Regions from separate parts of the Homo sapiens genome. Here region 2 is linked to region 1. Evidence: promoter capture Hi-C in 16 types of primary human blood cells and fetal thymus (Javierre and others, 2016). All regions are on one chromosome and are shown on one strand. Each heading gives the region's core, a stretch centred on a gene start or on the middle of the fragment in contact. The rest is flanking DNA. Distances are from core to core; before and after follow the strand shown. Region 1 holds the start of ANKRD52 (ankyrin repeat domain 52). Region 2 overlaps SARNP (SAP domain containing ribonucleoprotein).

Evidence for each region. The method cuts DNA at HindIII sites, captures the fragments that hold promoters and counts their contacts. A CHiCAGO score of 5 or more calls a contact.
Region 2: a fragment that was not itself captured here is called in contact with the fragment with the promoter of ANKRD52 in region 1 in 1 of 17 cell types (total CD8 T cells); the score reaches 5.8 in total CD8 T cells.

Annotation. Positions count from the first base shown.
Region 1 is chr12:56,255,320-56,262,904 of GRCh38, reverse strand. It overlaps ANKRD52 (ankyrin repeat domain 52), which reads left to right and starts at 4,521. Exons shown (of 28, transcript NM_173595.4): 1 at 4,521-4,662; 2 at 4,994-5,077; 3 at 5,544-5,622; 4 at 5,820-5,890; 5 at 6,921-7,121. The coding sequence starts at 4,636. RefSeq lists enhancers at 340-509, 5,033-5,082, 5,163-5,212, 5,519-6,511 and silencers at 4,263-4,322, 4,333-4,882, 4,903-4,972. The HindIII fragment of the contact is 14,479 bases long and covers 1-7,585 here.
Region 2 is chr12:55,791,760-55,799,344 of GRCh38, reverse strand. It overlaps SARNP (SAP domain containing ribonucleoprotein), which reads left to right. Exons shown (of 11, transcript NM_033082.4): 5 at 3,269-3,320; 6 at 4,465-4,538; 7 at 4,958-4,986. Among named protein-coding and RNA genes, the nearest start is that of SARNP, 22 kb to the left of the region's middle. RefSeq lists an enhancer at 625-1,126. The HindIII fragment of the contact is 2,580 bases long and covers 3,065-5,644 here.

The DNA of each region.
Region 1 (7,585 bases), core at 3,272-5,771:
GGGGTCTCACTCTGTCACCCAGATTGGAGTGCATTGGTGTAATCTCGGCTCACTGCAACCTCTGCCTTCCAGGTTCAAGTGATATTCCCACCTCAGCCTCCCAAATAGCTGCGACCACAGGGGCACACTACCACATTTTTGGTAGAGACAGGGTTTCATCTTCTTGCCCAGGTTGGTCTCAAACTCCTGAACTCAAGCAATATGTCCACGTTGGCCTTCCAAAGTGCTGGGATTACAGGCATGAGCCACCATGCCTGGACTATAAATGTGTTTTGTCAACTTTTCTTTTTTTTTTTAATTTTTTTTTTTTTTAATTTTGAGACAGAGTTTCACTCTTGTTGCCCATGCCGGAGTGCAATGGCGCGATCTCGGCTCACTGCAACCTCAGCCTCCTAGGTTCAAGCGATTCTCCTACCTCAGCCTCCCAAGTAGTTGGGATTACAGGCATGCACCACCACACCCGGCTAATTTTGTATTTTTAGTAGAGACGGGGTTTCTCCATGTTGATCAGGCTGGTCTTGAACTCCCAACCTCAGGTGATCCACCTGCTTGGCCTCCCAAAGTGCTGGGATTACAGGCATGAGCCACCGTGCCCGGCCGCCACCTTTCCGTTTATCCTCTTCCGTGATACCCCAAGTTGGGTGATGATCTCACTTATTTTCTTTCCTAACATCTCTTCTTTTCGCCTCTGCACTCCAGAGAGAGTCTGTTAAAATGTCCACATCCCCCAGTCCTCCTTTCCACTACTGTAGTACAGTGCCTCCTTCCAGTTCACAAATGGTAATCTGGAGCCACCTTCAGATGGGCACATGACCTTAAAGGACAGATTTACTCTTTCGAATTCCACTGTCTTGTCCAGCCCCACCCGCCTCTGACTAAGGGCTTATACATGTGAGACAGCTGCTTTGAATGAGGAGTAAGGATCTGGTTGGTTAAAAGACAGAAATTAACAGGGATACATAACTGAACTGTGACCTCATTATCACTCTGCCTTAACCAAGTTGACTGCTACAGAATCCCCAAGGTCCAACAGGCCTACCAAGCCAATTTGCTTACTGTCCCCTACTAATTGGTTTAACTAATTACTGCCATTTAAACTTTCCTAGTTTAGTCCCTATACTTGAAACAACCGATTTCTTCCCATGTCTCCACCATTCTACATCAATAACTTCCTTCAAGTACTGACTCAAAACACACCTCCTCCAGGAAGACCCTCTTGACTGAACCCTTCCTTCAACATTACTCTGAACACATAATGCCATGTAATCTAGCATGTATCCTATATTCTGTAGTTGTTTCACATGTATATGTATGTTCATCTACTAAGTTATAAGCTCCTCATAAAGAGACACCATTACTTCTAATTTTTGACCTCCCGACCAATTAGTACAGGGCTGTACATCGGGTGAGTCCTCACATTTAGTCAGAAGAAGGAAAACTGAGGCTTAAAAATAGGCAGCCATCTGTCTAGAGTTACCCAAATATGAATGCTTGTAGTTCAATCCAGAAGGACTGTCCATATAAGAAGGTTTTATCACCACTTCTGGCCTCCTCCTCCCATACCCTGTGTGTCTCCCTGAGCCCTGAAAGTATCAGTGTTCCCTACATCAAATCCCTTTTTTTCCTACTGGGAAATCCTCTTTTGATGCTCTAAATAATATTAAAAATAACTCTTCTAGCCCGTCCTCCTCCCTCCAATTGCCCAGAGAACCAGGCTGGCAACCTCTCTTGTTCACCTCCATCCCCTAGCCAGAACCGGGCACGTGACCCCAGCTGAACCCCTGACTCCAATTCCTCAGGTTACCTAGAGTTATTTTGGGCAATGGATACCATGTATGCCCCTCCTCCTTATCCTCTGGGCCATATCCTAGTTTAGCCCTTCCTGGAAGGCCCATCATACCCAATAGCCAAGTCCCAACACCCATATCCATTTGATCCTTTGCTACCTTTGGTTTCTGCTGCTGCTTCATCATCATCATCAGTCATCAAATATTAAATGCCTGTTTCTCTATACTGATATTCTGGAGCTTAAAAAAAACTATACCTGGCTGGGCACGGTGGCTCACGCCTGTAATCCCAGCACTTTGGGAGGCCGAGGCGGGCGGATCACGAGGTCAGGAGATTGAAACCTCCTGGCTAACATGGTGAAACCCCATCTCTACTCAAAGTTAGCCGGGCATGGTGGCAGCACCTGTAGTCCCAGCTACTGGGGAGGCTGAGGCAGGAGAATGGCATGAACCCCAGAGGCGGAGCTTGCAGTGAGCCGAGATCCCGCCACAGCACTCCAGCCTGGGCGGCGACAGAGCGACACTGGTCTCCAAAAAAAAAGGTGAAATGAGAAACAAAGGTGTACAATTTAACCAGATTGTGGCAGTATAAACTAAGTATGTAAGTGTTAAGGAGAACTAACAAAAGGAAAAGAGCCTATTAGCCAGAGGAGACTTCCTGGAAGAGGTAAGTTTAAATTTCTTCATAATTTTTGTGTGTGCATGGAATCACGGAGTGATTGCTCCTAAGCAATATTTTAACTTTTATTTTCAATATGGTAAAAATTTAAAAAATTCCAAAAGGTATATAGTGATAGGTAAATTTCTCTCTCATTCCTTATTTCCTGTACCCCAGTTTTTCTTTCTGGGAAAAAAGGACTGTTACTAGTGTCTTAAGTATCTTTCTAGCAGGAAAGCAAGGGAAGGCTTTTTTTTTTTTTTTTTTTTTTTGACATGGAGTCTGGCTCTGTCACCCAGGCTGGAGAGCAGTGGCTCCATCTCGGCTCACTGCAACCTCCGCCTCCTTGGTTCAAGTGATTCTCCTGCCTCAGCCTCTCCAGTAGCTGGGATTACAGGCGTGCACCACCACACCAGGCTACTTTTTTATATTTTTGGTAGAGATGGGGTTTCACCATGTTGGGAATGGGAAGGCTTTTTTTTTTTTTTTTTTTTTTTTTTTTTGAGACGGAGTCTCGCTCTGTCGCCCAGGCTGGAGTGCAGTGGCGCAATCTCGGCTCACTGCAAGCTCCACCTCCCGGGTTCACGCCATTCTCCTGCCTCAGCCTCCCAAGCAGCTGGGACTACAGGCGCCCGCCACCCTGCCCGGCTGATTTTTGTATTTTAGTAGAGACGGGGTTTCGCTGTGTTAGCCAGGATGGTCTCGATCTCCTGACCTCGTGATCCACCCGCCTCGGACTCCCAAAGTGCTGGGATTACAGGCGTGAGCCACCGCGCCCGGCCGGGAAGGCTTTTTTGAAATGTATTTTCGCCGGGTGCGGTGGCTCACGCCGGTAATCCCAGCTCTTTGGGATGCCGTGGCAGGTGGATCACCTGAGGTCAGGAGTTCGAGACCAGCCTGACCAACATGGTGAAACCCCCGTCTCTACTAAAATAAAAAATTAGCCGGGCAGGGTGGCGGGCGCCTGTAGTCTCAGCTACTTGGTAGTCTGAGACAGGATAATCACTGAACCCGGGAGGCGGAGGTTGCAGTGAGCCGAGATCGTGCCACTGCACTCCAGCCTGGGGGACGAGAGTGAAACTCCATCTCAAAAAATAAAATAAAATGTATTTTTATTTTTTAATTTTTTTCCTCTCCCCTCAAGGGAGGATTTTTATATATAAAGCCTTGACAGGACGCCAGCATGCTGCACTTCGTCCATTTCGTGTTCTCTTCAATGTGTATTGAGTTGTGAAACTCTGAACAGGACCCTGGATCACCTTTTATAAATTGTATCAATTTTTCAATCTCCACTTTTCGTCTTCCTCCTTTTTCCGTTTCTGGGTTGAGATGACCTCCATTCATTTCTTCTCTAATTGACGGCTCTCTGGCCTCTCCATTGGAGGAGGGGAAGCGCCACAGGCTGTTCTGGGGAGAAATTGTTGAGTGTTTTCCACTTTAACCTTGCAATGGAATCAGTAAGGAGTTGGAAAATGCCCCTTCTGTTGGTCTTGGCGGCCTTTTCCAGCTGCCAGTTGTCATGGCCTCTTTGTGGGTGTTTTCTGCAGTAGAATCCTCCTTGGGGTTTCTCTGCAGTTTGAGCACTTTTGCTATTTCTTCTCTACCGAACTCACGCCTCCGCCAGTGGAGATACACGCTTTCCCTCCCTCTGGGGCTATTGCCATACATAATTCCCAGTTCTCCACCCGCCAGTTCCTCCTAGTCTGTGGGGGATTTCGGGGTGTGGAATCGCTGACGGGAGGAGTTAGCTCGGGCGGGAGCATTGTGGGCTGGGTAAGATCTGGCCAGCCGTTCGGTCCTCAGTTTGGGAAGCACCGCGGGACTAAGGCCCAGGTTTCCGCTAGGGTCTTGTGGGGAACCCCTTGGGCCGCCAGACTGGAGCGGAGAGCACAGCGCGGCCAGCTGCGTGAGCCGGGGAGCCGGCGCGCGAGTTCGGGGGTGCAGGGGCTGCTGGGGCCGCCAGGGTGGGGCGGAGGGCGCTGCGGCCGGGGTCCGTTTGCGCGGGGAGCGCCGGGACCAGGACGGCCGCCAGGGAGCGCTGCGGCCTCCAACTCGCCCGCCCCCCGGTAGGCGGGGCCGCGCTCTCCCTGCAGCCGCCACCGCAGCCGCCGCCTGGGCCGCTCCGTGTCCCCGGTGGAGCCGCCGCCGCCGCCGCCGGGAGCTCGATGCGGACGGAGCCCGGGCCGAGCCATGGGGATCCTCAGCATCACGGACCAGGTCAGCCCTCCTGCCCTTTCCCGCTTCCTCCTTCCAGGGCTCGGCGCTGCCGTCACGCGAGCCCGGGGATGTGCGGCCTAGGCTGGGCCTGAGCCCGGGGCTCCCGCAGCTCCCGCCCCGCCCCATGCCGCGCTCCCCTCAACCGAGCCGGTGTCCTTGGGGACCTGGCAACCGGCGGAGGCACCGCGGGAGCTCGCTCCAGCCAGAATCCCTAGAGTGGAGCCCCTCCACGGACGCCCCCCACTCAAACCTAGGTGCTCCCCCACCCCCACCCCCACACCGGTTCCGCTCCGGCTCCAGCCCGCTCTCAGAATGCCGGTTCTCTCTGCAGCCGCCCCTGGTCCAGGCCATCTTTAGCCGAGATGTGGAGGAAGTGCGTTCCCTACTCTCGCAGAAGGAGAACATCAATGTGCTGGTGAGTTGGGAGCAGGGAGGATGGCGAGACCGGAATCCTGGCTCCCGTGTTCTGGACCCCTCCCCACCGGTGGGGCGGCTCCGTGTCTCCTCTGCTCAGATGAGGCCGCAGTTCTTTCCATCCTGGAGTGAAAGCCTACTCTGCATTTGGGGATGGAGAGCAGGTCAGGCTTGAAGCCCAGATCACTTGGGCTGGGAATGCCCAGGAACGTTGTTCTCTTCTCAACCTCCGGAGTCTGCAGCGCCCCCACCCCTCCTGGAAAAAGGAGCCGGCTTCTCAGCCCATTGGCCCTGACTCCACCCTCCCTAGGTGCTTGCCTTTGACTCCCAATACCGGGACTTAGGACGCTGCAGAAACTATGGGAAGAGGTTGTGGGGAAGGGCCTGGAGCTCTGAGACTTGGGCTGGGGTCCTTGATAGCCCCCTTACCCCGCGCCCATACTCCCTGCTCTTTTTTGCCTTCCCAGGACCAAGAGAGGCGAACTCCATTGCATGCTGCTGCCTACGTAGGCGATGTCCCCATCCTCCAGTTGCTACTGATGTCAGGTGAAAGTGGGGAGCTGGAAGGTGTGGCACATAGGGAGCGAAGGGAGGGGAGGAGTCTTTTTTGATATTCAAGGATTGCTCTCCCCGGCTTGGTCCAGGCGAGGCTCCAGCTCCATTCAGATTTCCTGGCCTGATTACTGGCTTCCTTCATACCTCCTCCCCACCTTCCATCAAAATAGGAAATTATATCCCCACAGGTGCTAATGTCAATGCTAAGGACACACTGTGGCTGACCCCTCTTCATCGTGCTGCTGCCTCCCGAAACGAGGTATGCACCCCCACCTTCTATTACCCTTTCAAAAAGGATAAGTTGCTTAAAGGTGGGGGTTAAGGGTTAAGGAGCCTCAGTCCTCAGCCCTACAAGCTGTTCTACCCCAGGTAGTGAGGAGATCAAATCTTGGCCCCTTCCTCCTACCCCTAGAACTGGCCAGTAAGGGGGTTGAGTGCTGCCAGCTGATGTGACTCAGGAAGAGCTTAACACTGGGCTGGCAGACTGCGGGGGCCCTGCTGCCAGGCCTGAGTGACTCATCCCTCCCTGGGGGGCCACCTTGAGTCTGATCCCCCTCTGGGCACTGAGATTTCTTTTCCTTGTGATGGAGGATGGGTATAGTAATCTGTTGCATCCTTGGCCCTCAAGCAGCTTGAAAGTTGACAGCACAGGGGCCAAACATATTTCATCAGTTGGGTCCTTTATCCTATTCCCATCAGCCCTGAAGACAGGGAAAGGGGGACCTCCTCCTCAGTTCATCACTTCCCTGGCTCCAGCCACCAGGGGGAGGGGCCGAGGCCAGTGGGAATGAGGTGGGTGGTGGTTAGGAGGGGCATTTTAGCTCGGGTTTTGCAAACGAACCAGTATCTGTTTGCTTACTGAGATACTGAAAATAATTTTGGTGCCTATGAGAAGGCTAAAGAGGGTGTTCAGGGCAAGATGTAGCAAGAGCATTTAGTTTTCCTAGAAGTAGTAGGGGGTTGGGATGTGTGGATCTCCACATGTGGATTTGTTTGGGAATGGATGTATGTGTGAGTGAAGATTTTCAGGGTCTAAGTTGGCGAGTCAGGTGGCTTGAAGAAGAGCAAAGGGTCCTTGTTTTAATCAGCAAGGTAAGGAAGAGCTTAAGTTCTAAGAAGATCCAGAAGATGGAAAGTAGGTATTCAGAGGCTAGGTATGTTGGAAAAATGAGAAGAGATTCTGTGCTGGGGAAGGGGCTGTAGATGCTATGCTGACCTATTCCTCCTTCCATTTCCTGTTGTTTTACCTCCTGCTCCCACTCTCTCTTTTGTCCCCTGCCCCTCAACAGAAGGTGCTGGGGCTGCTGCTGGCACATTCAGCAGATGTGAATGCCCGGGACAAGCTGTGGCAGACACCACTGCATGTGGCTGCTGCCAACCGGGCCACCAAGTGTGCTGAGGCTCTGGCACCCCTGTTGAGCAGCCTCAACGTGGCTGACAGGAGCGGGCGCAGTGCTCTGCACCATGCAGTGCATAGTGGGCATCTTGAGGTGAGGACTGTTCCCATCCAGGCCCAGCTGGGGCTTTCCCTTTTCTTACCTTCCTACTCACGTTTCCCTGCTTCTGGGCCCTCAAGCCTGAAGGAGAAGCAGCCCGGATGGTTATATAAACACTTAAGCTGAAGCACTAAATGAATGGTCAGACTAGATTAAAATTCTTAACTTGGACTTCAGGAGGTTGATAAAACCTTGGATTTTGCGTGGAAAATATTTGCATACACGCCTTTCTGAAGAGAGTCCATGTCTTTCAGCACATTTGCAAAGACTTACAAGAGTTTAAGAACCGGCCGGGCACGGCGGCTCACGCCTGTAATCCCAGCACTTTGGGAGGCGAAGGCGGGTGGATCATGAGATCAGGAGATCGAGATCATCCTGGCTAACATGGTGAAACCCTGTCTCTACTAAAAATACAAAAAATTAGCCGGGTGTGGTGGCGGCCGCCTGTAGTCCCAGCT
Region 2 (7,585 bases), core at 3,105-5,604, 460 kb after region 1:
TGGCCATTTTGTACTATAGTACATTAAGAGCCGTTGAGTCCTAAACTTTGAACATTTTTGTTCCTCATAGTTGTGTTAGTGCATTTAATTATAAAAGGCAGTGTATTTACAAGTAAAAAGTCAGTACATAGTGGAGTATATCAATTAAGAATTAAGTACTCTTTGTATCCATTCTCAGATCTGACTTTACTGAGGTTTTTAGAACAGTACATACTTTTGGAAGATTTTATATATGGGGTCTGTACATGTGTATATGTATGTATGTGTATATATAGATACACGTATACACACACTGTGCACACTTGATTTTTTTTCACATCTGGAAATTTTTTATATCATCATTTTCTTATGTAAGTGTTAGTTATATGCTAGGCATTGTTCTTAAGAGTTATATGCTAGGCATTGTTCTGAATGTTTTACATGTACTGTCATTTTATCCTCAGTAGACCCTGTAAAGTCAGGATAATTATCCTAGGAAGTGGTCTCTTTTTGTTTAGCTTATTATGGGAAATTACAAGTATATACAAAAGTTCGACTAGTGTAATAGACTCTCATCTACCTATCACCCAGATTTACTAGTTATCAACTTAGAACCTTGTTCTTTCTAGCATTTAATAGTATTGCATTCTATGGATAAACAGTAATTTATTTCACCAGTCTTCTGTTGATGGACATTTAGATTATTCATTAAAAAAAAATGTAGTTCTGCATGTCCTTTTCTAATTATTTATACTCACAAGTATACCCACAGGGTAAATTCCTAGCAGTGGATTTGCTGCATCACAGAGGATGTACATTTAACATCTTGATAGATTTTTGTCAAATATCCCTTTATTTATTTATTTTTGAGACAGGGACTCACTCCGTTGTCCAGGCTGGAGTGCAGTGGCACAATCTTGGCTCACTGCAACCTCCGTTTCCCGGCTCAAGCAGTCCTCCAGCTTCAGCCTCCTGAGTAGCTGGAACTACAGGCACGAGCCACTACACCCAGCTCTTTTTTTGTATTTTTTGTAGAGATGGGGTTTCGCCGTGTTTGCCAGGCTGGTCTCAAACTCTTGAGCTCAAAGCGATCCACCTGCCTTGGCCTCCCAAAGTGCTGGGATTACAGGTGTGAGCCAGTAATCACCTGCCTATCAAATACTACTTTCCAGCCTATCAAATACTACTTTCTAAAGCCATTTAGTTATCTTTCCATCATAAGATGTTTATAATTAGATATAGTGCCTTGAAAAAATGACTTTGTGAGATAGCTTTAAAATAGAAATGTTATGGGGATTTCTGGAACAAGAAAGAAGATCAAGTGAATACCATGATAATTGGCTTCTGTGGGTTAAAAAATAGAGGTTCGAAAGTTTGAAGTTCATTATTCATAGAATATTTAAAATGTGCATTCTGTTCAGGGGGCTTTAATTCTATTAATGAATTTTGAAACAAGGAAATTGAAGTGGGTGGGGTGATCGTTTTTGATTTTTAGAGGATAGTTGTGGTTAGACTGAAGTATGTACAAAAAGATTCTGGGTCTCTGTATTTCAGGGAATGTTGTTTATGTGATTGGGTAGGAGAGAAATTTCTCAGTGAAGAGTGGAAATTTCCCATGCATCCCAGAATTCGATGTTTATTTATTGCGCTTGAGTTTAGTTGCCTAAGGGAATTGTAATAGAATGGAAGGAAACTTCCCGTCTGGGGTTCCCTTTCTGCCATGATGTGCACTGCATTGACTGTGCTTCAGAATGGTAATGGGGAGGAAGTCATTACACTGGGGTTGATGGAGAGTACTACTTTCTTGATGGCATTGGATTTCAAGTAAAACATTAAACTTTAGCCTTTTGTGCCTAAATTATAAGACAAGGTTAGGGAAGGATGGCAAGGAAATGGGAAGCGTTTAGAAATTTCTTTAAACGTCAGAATAGCCAGGGCTAGTTTAGATTCCTTGACTATTTAAAAGGAGATCCCCTTCTTCATGTTTGGCCTGAAGTTCTCCAAAAATATACCTGTTTCTAGTTTGATTCCCAACCCCCAACCAGCTAAAGCGGTTACATATCGTAGGACTTCGTTATAGTCAGCAGGGGGCACCCATTGCTTGTCTTCAGTCCAGGGATTTCCAATAAAAGGGTGGAAGAGAGTAAGTTCTTATTCCAGAATTGCTTCCTCTGAAAATGTCATTAAACCATTACTACCTTTCAGGGCATCAAATGGGAAAAGTGTTCAGGATATTGGAACAAAAGCTGCCCATGTCTCTAAATGAGGGACCTTAATGAGACTGGTTATGACCCACAGTTTTATGGGAGTTGTTTGGTGGAGGGTTAATGCCCTTCCATTTATCGTGGGTACTTCCGAACTTTGTCTCCCGCCCCTGTGGTCCCCCCTCTTTTGTTTCCTCTTAAACCTTTGACCACTAGCTTACCATGTTTTCCTAATTCAAACTCCCCTTAGACTTTTTTCTTCCTACCTTCTTTGGCATTTTTATTTGTTTCACTTTGACTGTTCCAGCTAGAGCTACATTCCCCATGGGAGAAATAAGGGATTTTTAAAAGAAGGAAACCAGACCTTGTAGAGTACTTATTAATTGTTGTGATGAACATTGGGAGGTGGTACTTAAAGGAGGATTGGAGGGTTACTCATTAGTTCAAAAGTAAATTAAAGGCTGGGCTCGGTGGCTGATGCCTGTAATCCCAGTACTTTGGGAGGCCGAGGTGGGTGGATCACTTGAGGCCAGGAGTTCGTGACTAGCCTGGCCAACATGGTGAAACCCTATCTCTACTAAAAATACAAAAATTAGCTCGGCGTGGTGGCAGGTGCCTGTAATTCCAGCTACTCAGGAGGTTGAGGCAGGAGAATCTCTTGAACCCAGGAGGTGGAGGTTGCAGTGAGCTGAGATCGTGCCATTGCACTCCAGCCTGGGCGACAAGAGCAAAACTCCGTCTCAGAAAAATAAAAGTAAATTGAAAAGTTCCTAAAAGCAAATGAGATGGTTTCTGGTGTCCTTTGAGTGTTTCCCTTCAGCCCAGTATATTTAACCAGACTTCTTTCCTTATTTCTTTATTATACTTTAGCTAAAGAAGCTTAGTTTGTTATTTGAACTCTTTCCTCTCAATAGATGACAGTTAAAGGAACCAAAGCTCTAGTGGACTTCATGTTTCTTTGGCTTAGGGGGTGGCAGAGAGATAATAGGGCAGAGAATGGTGACTCAGGTGAATTCTTACACATTTCTGAGGTTGTGGTTTAGAATATCAGTTTTCTCATTTTAAAAAATCTCTTTCTTTTCTAGGGCAGCAGAGAAGAAAGTGGTGAAAATTACATCTGAAATACCACAGACTGAGGTAGGTATTCTGCTCCCTAGTAGAACAGTCTCTACATTTCTCTCTCCCTCTTACCCTTTATTATATCTGCATCATCCTCTAAAATTTATTCACAGGCAGAAAATCAGTATTGGCAGATTTTGGTGTTGATACGTTTCACTGCCAGCTACTCTTTGGAAAATATTTGGCTGGCGTAGGGGTAGTCATTCTTGAAGTTGTAGTCTTTTTATATGTAATATTATGGTCTTAACAGTGACTCTCTTTGAGATGTTTTCAAACCTAGGATTAGATTTAGGAGGATTGTACCTTGAAAATGTATTGGTAGATGTGACTCTTATGTTGCTACTGGCCAGTAGCTGAGATTGAAATTTCTCTGGTTTCTGTGGTGCAGGACTGTGAAACCAGGTTCCATTTGAGATCTTGTGTTCAGTATCATACTTGCAAAGTAGAGAATTATTAAACTCTTTTAGAATGGCATAAAACAATGCTGCCTCATTTCTAACTGAAAGAATACCATTGGTGTTGGAACCAAGCTATTCCTTTGATCACTTTTCAAAGGTCAGCCAAACATAGCTTTTGACTTCTTGGCTTCATGCATAATGTAGGTTTTACTTTATTTCTCCCTTTTGTTTTTGAGGGCATCTAGTAATAGTCTTTTTTTGTTTGCTTTGTGGGAAGGGCCGTTAAGTCCTAGCATGGACACAACCTGATATCTTCTAGGATTGTCAGTATTTTCAGTTTAGACCCTAAGAAATTACTTCTGATGTTTTTAAGATACCTACCTTTGGCTGGGCCAGGTGGCTCACGCTTGTAATCCCAGCAGTTTAGGAGGCTGAGGTGGGCAGTTCACTTGAGGCCAGGAGTTCAATATCAGCCTGGCCATCATGGTGAAATCTCATTTCTACTAAAAGCACAAAAATTAGCTGGGCACAGTGGCACAGTCCTGTAATCCCAGCTACTCAGGAGGCTGAGCCACGAGAATCGCTCGAACCCAGGAGGCTGAGGTTGCAGTGAGCCGAGATCATGCCACTGCACTCCAGGCTGGGGGACAGAGTGAGACTCTTTTTTTTTTTTTTTTTTTTTTTTTTAAAGATACCTACCTCTGACTGACTTTCTTAAACCATAAATTGACTTTTTTTTCTCCCTTTTGTCTATTTTTACTTAGAGAATGCAGAAGAGGGCTGAACGATTCAATGTACCTGTGAGCTTGGAGAGTAAGAAAGCTGCTCGGGCAGCTAGGTGAGTGTCCCCAGCCTTTTGGGCCTCTGATAGGGGTGTTGTAAAGATGAAGATGTGTGATCCTAGCTTTTAGGTATAATTGTTGATTTTAAGTAGAATAGAGGCTTGCTGAAGGATATGAACACTTTTTTGACCCTATTCAGAACATGTCTACTGATTTGGTTATAGTAGCTATAAATTGAGCTTTATTGAGAAGGGTTTTTGTAACAGTTAAAGCCAGGAACTGACTACTACTAATTCTGATAAGGCTTCCTTTTAGCTTAATTTCTGAACCTCTTTCATGGGGTTGTTAGAATTAGCTAATGATTGCAAGGCTTGAGATCACAAGCAAGAAGTGTCATATGTATACTTGACACGGAGACAGACAAACCAGGAGTGTGAACAGCTTCCTAAAATTTAGTTTGTTTTTCCTTCTTCAGGTTTGGGATTTCTTCAGTTCCAACAAAAGGTAAGAGTACAGAGATACTTCTGAGAAAGTTACCTTTTTATTCTTTCTTTTCTGGTATAACAGGTTTTATTTCTCCAAAATAAGGTAAATTTGCTAGCTGTAGAAACTCTTTAAGAGATTGTAACATTCATCTCCTGCTTTAGGTAAAATTATACTTAGGCCTTCCTGGGCAATTAAGAGAGATACTGAATGTTATGAGAGGATAGGAAGTGCCAACATTTGTCTGTCTTTTCTTGAACATCTTCAAAGAAGTTTCTCTAGTACTTTGCTTACTTATTCTGGGGTCTCAACTGCATAAAATTATTGCATACTATCTAGTGTTATACTGGCTATTATAAGTGATAAAAGGGAAAAGAATATCTTCTACCTTAACAGTTTTACTTCTAGGAACGTATAAGGAAATAGTCTTGAATGTGCATAAAGACTTAGCCTCAGGGATTATCACAGCATTATTTATAGTGATCAATAACTGGAAACAACCAACTGTACAACAGAGAATTAGTTATTAAATGTGTGCCATGGTATAGCAGACTACTGTGCTGAAATAATATTGAAAGATATTTATCAGAGATATTAATGAAAAAAGTTACAAAATTATATTAACAGTACGTTCCCATTTTAGTCATGTAAGAGTGCATGTATAGATAGGAAAAAAGCTTGGAAGGATACATAGTAGACACTTCAGCAAGGTTTGAACTGCACAGGTCCACTTATACTTGGATTTTTTTTTTTTTCAATAAATACAGTTTGCTGTCTGTATCTGAGGGTTCACCATAACCAAATGCGGTTCAGAAATACAGTATTCTTGGGATGTGAAACCTGCAGATATGGAGGAGCAGCTTATATCTGCTGCAGGACTTGAGTGTGGTGGATTTTGGTATCAGCTGGAGGGGTGGGTTTGGATCCAATCCCCTGAGGAAATGGAGGGACGACTGTATTCTAAATTGTTAATACTCTTATCTCTGGTTGGTGGAATTTTGAATGATTTATTTCTTTTTGCTTGTCTGTGTTATTAAAATCCATACAATGAATATGTATCACTTTTGTAATGAATTAGAGGAAATTATTACTATTTTTTGAGACACAGTCTTGCTCTGTCACCCATGCTGGAGTGCAGGGACGTGATCTGGTTCACTGCAACCTCTGCCTCCCAGGTTCAAGCTATTTTCCTGCCTCAGCCTCCTGAGTAGCTGGGACCACAGGTGCGTGACACCATACCCAGCTAATTTTTGTATTATTAGTAGAGACAGGTTTCACTGTGTTGGCCAGGCTGGTCTTGAACTCCTAACCTCAAGTGATCCACTCACCTCTGCCTCCCAAAATGGTGGGATTACAGGTGTGCCGAGCCTGAAACAGTTATTATTTTTAAGAAACGGCTGGGTATGGTGGCTCATGCCTGTAATCCCAGCACTTTGGGATGCCAAGCCGGGAGGATCAGTTGAACCCAGGAGTTGGAAACTAGCTTGGGAAACAAAGTGACACCTTGTTTCTACAAAAAATTAAAAAATTAACTAGACATGGTGGCAGGTGTTTGTAGTCCCAGCTACTTGGGGCGCTGGGGTGGGAGTATCTCTTAAGCCTGGGAGGTCAAGGCTGGCAGTGAGTGTGATCTTGCCATGACACTCTAGCCTGGGTGACAGAGCAAGATCCTGTCTCAGAATTTAAAAAAAGGACAGGCTGGGCACGGTGGTTCACACCTGTAGTCCCAGCACTTTGGGAGGCCAAGGCAGGTGGATTGCTTAAGGTCAGGAGTTTGAGACCAGCCTGGCCAACATGGCGAAACCCTTCTCTACTAAAAATACAAAAAAAAAAAAAAAAAAAAAGCTGGGTGTGGTGTTGCGCGCCTGTAATTCCAGCTATTTGGGAGGCTGAGGCAGGAGAAGTGCTTGAACGTGGGAAGCGGAGCTTGCAGTGAGCAGAGATTGCTCCACTGTACTCCAGCCTGGGGGACAGAATGAGACTCTTTTCTCAAAAAAACAAAAAGAACATAGCCCCTTTTCTCAGGAACTTAAAACTTAAATGTAGTCTTCCAATTCAATCCAGTTTTCCCTGTGACTCGTCAGTAGTTTTAAGTAAGAAAATGTCCCCCAGAGATCTTCTTGTAGTGTTTTGCTGTGCTTTTAAAAAGACAGAAAAATTCTGGCCGCTATCACTAAGTGTTTTAGAAAAAAAAAATTTTTTTTCTGGCTCTTAGTTGCATCAAGAGAGATATAATTGGTGAAGATACAACAGAAATTATAGAACGTGGTGCTTTTTTATTTTTTTTAAGAGACAGGGTTTCACTATATTGCCCAGGCTGGACTTGAGCTCCTGGGCTCAAGCAATCCTCCCTCAGCCTCCTGAGTAACTGGGACTACAGGTGCAAGGCTAAAATGCTATTTGAAGAAAGATAATAGTTAAAATTAATAGTCTGAAAAGGGAACCTGATAAAAAATACAGTTTCAGTGTTACTCATAATTCTGACATCTTAGAACTATAGAGTAACTCTAAAAAATAACGGAATTTGGGAACATTTAAAAGCAAGCACTGTTTTTTTGAATGAAATCCTGAAAAGTTTGAAGTAAATAATTATTGGCTAGTTTCTTGGTGATAATTTCAG